Regions from separate parts of the Homo sapiens genome. Here region 2 is linked to region 1. The links are contacts of gene promoters, found by promoter capture Hi-C in blood cells and fetal thymus (Javierre and others, 2016). All regions are on one chromosome and are shown on one strand. Each heading gives the region's core, a stretch centred on a gene start or on the middle of the fragment in contact. The rest is flanking DNA. Distances are from core to core; before and after follow the strand shown. Region 1 holds the start of GPR107 (G protein-coupled receptor 107). Region 2 overlaps FNBP1 (formin binding protein 1).

Region 1 (4,618 bases), core at 1,307-3,806:
TTTATTTATTTTGAGACGGAGTCTTGCTCTGTCGCCCAGGCTGGAGTACAGGGGCTCAATCTTGGCTCACTGCAACTTCCTACTCCTGGGTCCAAGCGATTCTCCTGCCTCAGCCCCGAGTAGCTGGGATTACAGGTACCTGCCACCACGCCTGGCTAATTTTTGTATTTTTAGTAGAGATGTGATTTCACAATGTTGGCCAGGCTGGTCTCAAACTCCTGACCTCAAGTGATCCACCCACCTCAGCCTCTGAAAGTGCTGGGATTACAGGCGTGAGCCACCGTGCCCGGCCAAGTTTTGTCTACATTTCTACATGCACTTTTCTGGAGAGAGGTTCTATAGCTCTCAACAGATTCTCAAAGAGTCAAAATTCACTTGCCCCACCCCCACCCCTGTGATTGAACCATTTTAATCAGGATAATTTTTACCTACAAACAACAAAAGTTGTTACCAAAAAGTAAGGTTGTATGGATCCAGTCAGGCTTGCATTTATTTATTTATTTATTTATTTATTTGAGACAGAGTATAGTTCTTTCGCCCCGACTGGAGTGCAGTGGCACAATGATCTCTGCTCACTGCAATCTCAGCCTCCCGGGTTCAAGCAATTATCCTGTCTCAGCCTCCCAAGTAGCTGGGACTACAGGCATGTGCCACCATGCCCGTCTAATATTTGTATTTTTAGTAGAGAGGGGTTTTGCCATGTTGGCCAGGCTGGTCTCGAACTCCTGACCTCAGGTGATCCGCCCACCTCGGCCTCCCAAAGTGCTAGGATTATAGGTGTGAGCCACCGTGCCCAGTCAAGCCAGGCTTTTAATTTCATTCTGTATTCTTTAAATTCTACATTAACAAAATACAATGCTTCATAGTTTGCTAAAACAATGTGTTTTTACAAGACAAACTTTCTACAGTTCCACTTCTTTTTTTTTTTTTTTTTGAGACGGAGTCTCGCGCTGTTGCCCAGGCTGGAGTGCAGTGGCGGGATCTTGGCTCACTGCAAGCTCCGCCTCCCGGGTTCACGCCATTCTCCTGCCTCAGTCTCCCGAGTAGCTGGGACTACAAGCGCCTCCCAGGTTCACGCCATTCTCCTGCCTTAGCCTCCCGAGTAGCTGGGACTGCAGGCGCCTGCCACCACGCCTGGCTAATTTTTTTTTTATTTTTAGTAGAGATAGGGTTTCACCGTGCTAGCCAGGATGGTCTCGATCTCCTCACCTCGTGATCTGCCTGCCTCGGCCTCCCAAAGTGCTAGGATTACAGGCGTGAGCCACCGCGCCCCGCCTACAGTTCCACTTCTTAGAAGACTGTATGGTATGAAAATAATGTACAAGAGTTTGGGTCATAACAATTTACTTTTCTATGTCTCTAATTTTGTTTATATGTTTTGAGAAAGGGTCTTGCTCTGTTCCTCAGGCTGGAATGCAATGAGTAATCACGGCTCACTGCAGTCTCAACCTCCTAGGCTCAAGTGATCCTCCAGCCTCAGCCTCCCCAGAAGCTGCAGGCGTTTGCCACCACACCTGGTTAATTTTTAATTTTTTGTAGAGACAGGTTTGGGGAGGGGGTCCTTAGCACGTTGACTAGGCTGGTCTCGAACTCCTGGGCTCAAACAATCCTCCTGCATAGGCCTCCCAGTGTTGGGATTACAGGCATGAGCCACAGCACCTGGACAATTTCCCAGATATAGTAAACTGCTGAACCACCTTAGGGTGCGTTTCAGCCTTAGAGGTCTTTTCTCTGCTAGTTACAAAGCAAGATCCAGAGTATCATTCTAGGTTTATCAAAAATCTCTCTTCCCTAGACAATGGCTGGATAGAGGAAGAAAAAGCAGGCCCTTTGATTAGAGACACACCTTAATGCTGGCTTTACATTCTCAGTCACGTGTTTTAAGCAAGATTTGAAATTCCTTCTCTAGAGTCTCGCTCCAGAGAGCGCCCTAAACCGAAATGGGAAACTGAGGCTAAGGTTCCAAGTACCTTCAAACCGCCGGTACAGTACAAGGGCACAGAAGAGCGGAGACCGCGGACAAGGAAAGCCAGCATAAAAGCTGGAGGGGAGAAAGAAGAAAGGCGATCGGGCTGCCCTGAGTGAGGAATTCAGGGAAGCCAGCAGGGATTTAAGAGCAGCCTCCCGAGTCCGTGGGGGCAACGCCACAGTTCAGCCCCTTCCCCTCCCTCAGCTCGAGTCTTCCCGCCCCGTGCCGGTCAGCCCGAAGACCCCAGCGCCGCCCAGACCCGCCTTCCCCACAGACCCCGCCACCTGTCAGTGAAAGGCCGCAGCCAGGGGCAAAGAGGTGGTCCAGTGGCTCAGAGGTCCCCAATGGGCCAAAGTTGCCCTAAAACCCGGGGAGTGGCCTCGGCCTCCGCCCCCCGGCCCGGCCTTGCCAAGCTTTACCTTGAGTGCCAGGTGATGGACGCGGCCCAGGCCAGGCTCGGCCAGCAACTGCAGCAAACCCAGCATTGGGAGCAGCCGGAGGCCCGCGGCCAGCCTAGGACCGCGGGAGGCGGGGGAGCCGACGGGCGCCAGAGCGGCCATGTTTGTTCCAGCATCACCAGCCGCTTCCTCTCCCGCCCACGTCCGGGGTGAAAGGGCGCAGCCGCCGGAAGGGCCCGGGGAGCGGGGCTCGGCGGCTAGCTCCGCTGACCCTGTGGTCGTTTTCCTGGAGATTGCGACCTAGGAAGTCGTCGAGGAGCCTGTGCTGCCCACCTCGGGGCCCTTCGATCGGCCGCTCCTGTGCAGACTTTCAGTTAGAGATGAAGCCAACCTATTGGCGGTTGCCATAACAACGGTGGCCGAACCAGACCAGCCCGGGCCGCACCTCCGCCTCGCTGAGCTTTGGAAGCGACCTTGGGCTCCGGGGACCCCTGATCTCAGGGTCGGGGGATAAGCTGTGTCAGCCGCACGGTGTCGGGCCACTGATTGAACTGATTTCACTGAGCGTTGACTCGGAGGAAAATATCTAAAAATTCCCGGCTCGCCGTAGGGGTCCTGTGGTTTTCTAGGCGCTTCACACTCAAATACAAGCGAAATGGTTGCAATAATACGATTGATTGAGCCCTTATGAGGCAATTTGTTAGGCCTTTTGTTGTATTTAATTTTTGGAACAATTTGATGAGCTAGGAGGTACGTATTATCATTATTCCTACTTTACAGGTAAGCAAACTGAGGCTCTGAGAAATAAGTCATTTGCTCCAGGTTGAGCTGGGAATCACACGGAAGCTCTTAACTCCTGTGTTCTGTTGCCTCATGCTATTTCATCCAACCCCAAGTCTGGGTCTTAACATTTTTCTCTTAATTCTGTATGGAAACTTTCTTTGCTTCTTTCAGAAATTATAGGAACTTCTTTTTTTTGAGACGGAGTCTAGCTCTTGTCACCCAGGCTGGAGTGCAATGGCACGATCTCAGCTCACTGCAACCTCCGCCTTCTGGGTTCAAGCGATTCTCCTGCCTCAGCCTCTGGAGTAACTAGAATTACAGGCCTGCGCCACCACGCCCGGCTAATTTTTGTATTTTTAGTAGACACGGGGTTTCTCCCATGTTGGCCAGGCTGGTCTCGAACTCCTGACCTCAAGTTATCCTCCCGCCTCGGCCTCCCAAAGTGCTGGGATTACAGGCGTGAGTCACTGCGCCCAACCTGCTTTGGAGTACTTTTTATCTTTTAAAGTTAAGTGGCATCTTTGAAAATCTCTGGTTTTAAATTTGAATATAATACTGTACTAAAAACGAAATGAGGCCTGGCAGGGTGGTGATTCGCGCCTGAATCCCAGCACTTTGGAACGCCGAGGCGGGCGGATCACTTGAAAGTCAGTTGTTCGGGACCAGCCTGGGCAACATGGCAAAACCTCGTCTCTACTAAAAATACAAAAATTAGCGGGGCATCACGGCCGCGCGCCTGTAGTCCCAGCTACTGGGGAGGCTGAGGCAGGAGAAGCACTTGAACCTGGGAGGCAGAGGTTTCAGTAAGCCAAGATCATGCCACTGCACTCCAGCCTGGGTGACAGAGTGAGACTCTGTCTCAATAAAAAAAAAATCAGGTAAGAATCTTAATCCCATTTTATAATACAATAGTGATGAAACATTAAAATAGTTTTAAATAGGAGACTTTTGTCTTAGTTTCTGGACAACAGTTTTATAAGGGCTTAAAACTGGGTTCATAGCATTCCTTGCTTCTCTATACTTGGGTATTATCATGTGACCTACATAGGGTCATACCAGTGCTGTCTGTCCAGGGGTTTAAGAGGATATCTTCTTCTTTCACATATTTGAAAGCTGTATTGTGCCAGTCATTATTTTGGAATTGAGAGGAATAAGAATGAGGGAAAACTGACTACAAAGACATTGTTGAGCATTTTCTCTACAGTTACTTCTTAAATTCTAGAAAACTGCTGCCTTGACAATTACATTTAGCCATGTGATTTCATAGTTTCAAGAAAAGATTATTTGCATAATCATGATGCTGTAACTGGAAACAAACAGGCTGAGTAACAGAACAAGTTATGCCTGCTTCTCCTGGCAACATTTTCAAAGGGACATTACACTTTAAGGTATTGACTGAAAAAGCCTGCAGGGGCTGGAAAGACTGATCTCCTAAGCTTGGCTTTTAGCCTTACTCTCTTAGTCAAGT
Region 2 (4,618 bases), core at 1,425-3,924, 92 kb after region 1:
CAACTAAAAAGTTGAAATAAGTAAGTGTAGCTGTCACCCCAGAAACTATTAGGGTTTGGGTTTTTTTGTTTGTTTGTTTGTTTTAGCTTATTATTATGTTTTAAAAGAAACTAAAAGCATCTTATGACAGCAGAAAGTAAGAAGCATTTCTCTGGGTCTCTAGAGATGGCATTTCCTGTCTCTTTTCTGATAGGAGAGAAAGGAGCTGTGATGACTTCATTCTATGGCTCCAAAAGAAGCACTTTTTATCTTTGTCCGGAGAACAATTCCTCCTTCTTTAGTGCTTGCAGGCACACTTTTTAGACACACACTTGCTCACTGTCCAGAAAAGAAATGTTCGGCCATTGTTGGTAAACAACAAATACATCTGGCAAAGCTGGTTTATTTGTTTAACTTTGTAACTGTTAAAATAGCTTTTCCGGTGAAAGCAGCGAAGATAGAGCTAGAAACAAACCCCAGCTATTCAGGTCATGGTAGGCACAGAGCACAAAGGAGGGCTTTTGTTCCCTCCCTTAATTTCCTGAAGGATCCCCCAGCACGGATAGTTTTTCGTATGTTATGGCCAAATAAATGATAGAGGGACAGGTACTGTGAAAAAGGCTGGGGCTGGGCATGGTGGCTCATGCCTGTAATCCCAGCACTTTCGGAGTCTGAGGCAGGCATATCACTTGAGGTCAGGGGTTCGAGGATAGCCTGGCCAACATGGTGAAACCCTGTCTCTACTAAAAACACAAAAATTAGCCGGGCGTGGTGGCGCATGCCTGTAGTCCCAGCTACTCAGGAGGCTGAGGCAGGAGAATTGCTTGAACCCAGGAGGCGGAAGTTGCAGTGAGCCGAGATTGTGCCACTGCACTCCAGCATGGGTGACAGAGACTTGTTTTTTTAAAAAAAAAAAAAAAAAAGGCTGGAAGGAAGGAAGATGGGCATCACCCACAATCTCCTAAGCCCCATGAAATGGTACGATGATAATTGCAGTTTTCAGGTAGTGGTTTAATAATGTGGGGAGAGGTGTGGCTGAGCAGTCTTCATGAGAGATAACTTACCAGTAAATTCAAGGTGCACACCGTGCCTTAAACACAAATGCATATTTATTATATATTTACACTAAGGAGTGGCAAGGGAACCACTCTATGGATTTTTCAATCAAAATCATCCCTCGTGTTTTTAAAATAAGACTTTTTTTTTTAAGACTCTTGTCTTCAGAGATTTATTTTATATGAAAGTCAGGTGACATGTCCCAGGCAATGCCTGTCATTGTCTGCTGGGCTTCTGTGCATTTCCTGTCTCCACCCACAGCATTGCCCCAAGCTGGAGGGAGCTTTCACTTTGTTAAAACATTCACTTTCAGAGGTGCTGGAGAGATAGATCGTCAACCTCGAGTACAGCTCTGAATTGGTGCTGGGGTTTTCTCTTTTTGTTCCTGTCTTTGAATCTCAAAGTAAAACTTTTGGGAGCGGCTGCATCTCTTCAGCAAACTGCGTAACTCGGTGCTCCGGCTTAGGAAATGGGATCTTTCTCTTCGCAGAGAAGTCACCCGATAAAGACTTTCAGGACCAGAGGTGCCTTCCAAAAAGGGCACAGTTGAGCCCAGATGGTTTGAAATTGACGCTCTGGTCTCTGGGGGGTCCTCCCTGAAAGCGTGGCTTTCAGAAAACCCGCTTGTATTTTCTATACGTTCTCCACTAAGGTCCAGAGTTTCCCTAACCCTGTCCTTGGCTCTACTTCTTAATTCTCCCACAGCCTGGATCCCTTCTTTTCTGTTCTATCCTTATGTCCATTACAAGAGCTGAAAAACGAAGCCCCAAGGGGCTCCCCCTGGGTTTGCAGAGACCAAAAAATTGCTGGATAGATAAAACTGACTGCAAAGAGGCGCTTAAAACAGTGAAACTCGACCTCAAAAGAGAGACAAGAAAACATTCCCTTATAAAGGAGCACTGTTCTAAATCTGATGTTGTCTCTGCCTTCCCAGCCTTTCCAGTTGTCAGCTCCATTTTCTGACTCCGCTAAATCCTAGGTTCTGACGAGGTACGGGAAAAGCTCCGAGGCTCTACCTAGTGGACCTCTTTGTTTTTATCCTTCCTTCACCTGACCTTCTCTGCAGTGCACCCCTAACACCAATGCTTACCTTGTGAGCCAGAAAACAGACAGCACATTCAAACTCAGTAATTGAAGGAAGGTCGGTTATTAAAAGGAGCATTTACAACGTGGCGGATAGAGTTTAGGAAAAGCAGTGAGGATGGTTCAGTACCCTGGAGCAAGTCACAGTGGGGAGCTGATGTTGCCCCCAGGCCTCACAGGGCTGGAGGAGCCTTCCAGGAATTTCACAGATGAGGAACTTCTGAGGTTAGCTGCATGCGGGGCACTGCCTGACTGGAGCTGTGCCCTTTGGTCCAAGGACCCAGCCAACCTGTATCATCTCAGTGAGGAGAAGCTGCAGGTACAGTTTCCTGCCCTCTGATCACTCAGAACATCCTTGTGGCAAATCTCATCAGAACCAGAGGGCAAGGGTTCATGAGATCCCTGCATGTCAGTCTCTGGGGACCCAGACAGGGTGGAGAATGCACCTGGGAAATTTGCAGGACATTGACCAAGTCAGCGATGGTACAGTGTGGAAGGATACTAAAAGATTTAGGGGCCGGGCACGGTGGCTCACGCCTGTAATCCCAGCACTTTGGGAGGCCGAGGCAAGCGGATCACTTGAGGCCGGGAGTTCGAGACCAGCCTGGCCAACATGGTGAAACCCTGTCTCTACTAAAAATACAAAAAATTAGCTGGGCGTGGTGGGTCGCACCTGTATTCCCAGCTACCAGGGAGGCTGAGGCAGGAGAATCACTTGAACCCGGGAGGCAGAGGTCACAGGGAGGCAGAGGTCTCAGTGAACCGAGATCACGCCACTGTCCTCCAGCCTGGGCAACGGAACAAGACTCCGTCTCAAAAAATAAAATATATAAAGGATTTAGGGAACTGGTGATTTTAGGTCACTGAACAAAAAAAAGACACCATTCTCTTAACATTTCTGCATATTTCTAGCACTTCCTTCCTTGGGATCTTTGTCTTCTTTGGTCTCCTGGCTTTAACTATCCACTTTATACTGAAGACTCCCAAACTGGTCTTTAGTACAGACCGCTCCCTAAGCTCAGATCCACAAGTCCAAGTACATATTAGTCTCTCTACTTGTTTGTTTGTTTGTTTTTCGGGGGTTTTTTTGAGATGGAGTCTCTATCTGTCACCCAGGCTGGAGTACAATGGTACTATCTCGGCTCACCGCAACCTCCGCCTCCCAGTTCAAGTGATTCTCCTGCCTCAGCCTCCCGAGTAGCTGGGATTACAGGCATGCGCCACCATGCCTGGCTACTTTTTGTATTTTTAGTAGAGACGGGGTTTCACCATGTTGCCCAGGCTGGTCTAGAACTCCTGACCTTTGGTGGTTCGCCCACCTTGGCCTCCCAAAGTGATGGGATTACAGGCATGAGCCACCACGCTCGGCTAGTCTCTCTACTTGGGAGTCTCATAGAAATATCAGCCTTAACACATGTGAAACTACGTGTATGATCTTCCTCCTCAGACCCACTTCTCTCAGTCTTCCTTCTCCTAAAGCTCAGACTGACAACCTCGGAGTCACCCTGGGCAGCTCATTATTGCACATCTCATCTTATCTCCCAGAAAATCCTGGAAGTTTGGGTGATCAAAAGGTGCCCAAAACCTGACCCCTCTCACCACCTGCACTGCTCGCTACCTACAACCTGTCCAAGTTGCAGTAATCTCCAGGATTGTTACAAAAGCCTCCCACCATCTGAAATCTTTCCTTCACAACATCTTAGAGTTACTCATCGACTCTGGTTCATTCAGGCAAAAAAGCCTACAAGACCCTATACAACTCCCTCTTTCTTCTCTGACCTCATATGATATTCTCCCCGAGGCTCCTCCAGATCTGGCCGCCAGGTTAACACCACACCAGAGCCTGCCTCAGGGCCTTTGCAGATGGCCAGGAGGGAAATTTATCTTTATATTTAAAATAATCTAATAATGAAAACAGCCATGCACACAAAACACTCAAAACTCTTACTCAAGTGTTTATAGCAGCAATTTTCTTTTTCTTTTTCTTTTTCTTTTTCTTTTTTTTTTTTTTTTTTTTGAGATGGAGTCTTGATCTGTCACCCAGGCTGGAGTACAGCAGCGCGATCTCGGCTCAGTGCAGTGCAACCTCCAGCCCCCTAGGTTTTAAGCAATTATCCTGCCTAAGCCTCCGGAGTAGCTGAGATTACAGGTCCACGCCACCACGCCCGGCCAGTTTTTGTATTTTTAGTAGAGACAGGGTTTCACCATGTTGGCCAGGCTAGTCTCAAACTCCTGACCTCGTGATCCGCCCACCTCTGCCTCCCAAAGTGCTGGCCTGGCCGCATTTTTCATAATAGCCCAAACCTAGAAACAACTCTGATGTCTATCAACTGTTGAATGGATAAACAAAATGTGGGATAGCCACATGATGGAATAATCATTTGGCAATAAAAAAGAATGGAGTACTGATACATGTGACAATGTCGACCTTGAAATCATGCGAAGTGGATATGAGGAGATAATGAACACATCCCAGTTACCAAAGGCCTCAGACCATGTC

What was found. The method cuts DNA at HindIII sites, captures the fragments that hold promoters and counts their contacts. A CHiCAGO score of 5 or more calls a contact.
Region 2: a contact is called between a fragment that was not itself captured here and the fragment with the promoter of GPR107 in region 1, in 8 of 17 cell types (activated CD4 T cells, total CD8 T cells, total B cells and 5 more). The highest score is 8.1, in activated CD4 T cells.

The regions. Positions count from the first base shown.
Region 1 is chr9:130,051,844-130,056,461 of GRCh38, reverse strand. It overlaps GPR107 (G protein-coupled receptor 107), which reads right to left and starts at 2,556. Exons shown (of 18, transcript NM_020960.5): 1 at 2,389-2,556. The coding sequence starts at 2,529. It also overlaps a transcript of FNBP1 not described here. RefSeq lists a silencer at 2,259-2,568. The HindIII fragment of the contact is 2,204 bases long and covers 2,385-4,588 here.
Region 2 is chr9:129,959,901-129,964,518 of GRCh38, reverse strand. The region is part of intron 4 of FNBP1 (formin binding protein 1); the gene reads left to right. Among named protein-coding and RNA genes, the nearest start is that of FNBP1, 81 kb to the left of the region's middle. The HindIII fragment of the contact is 5,643 bases long and covers 1-4,618 here.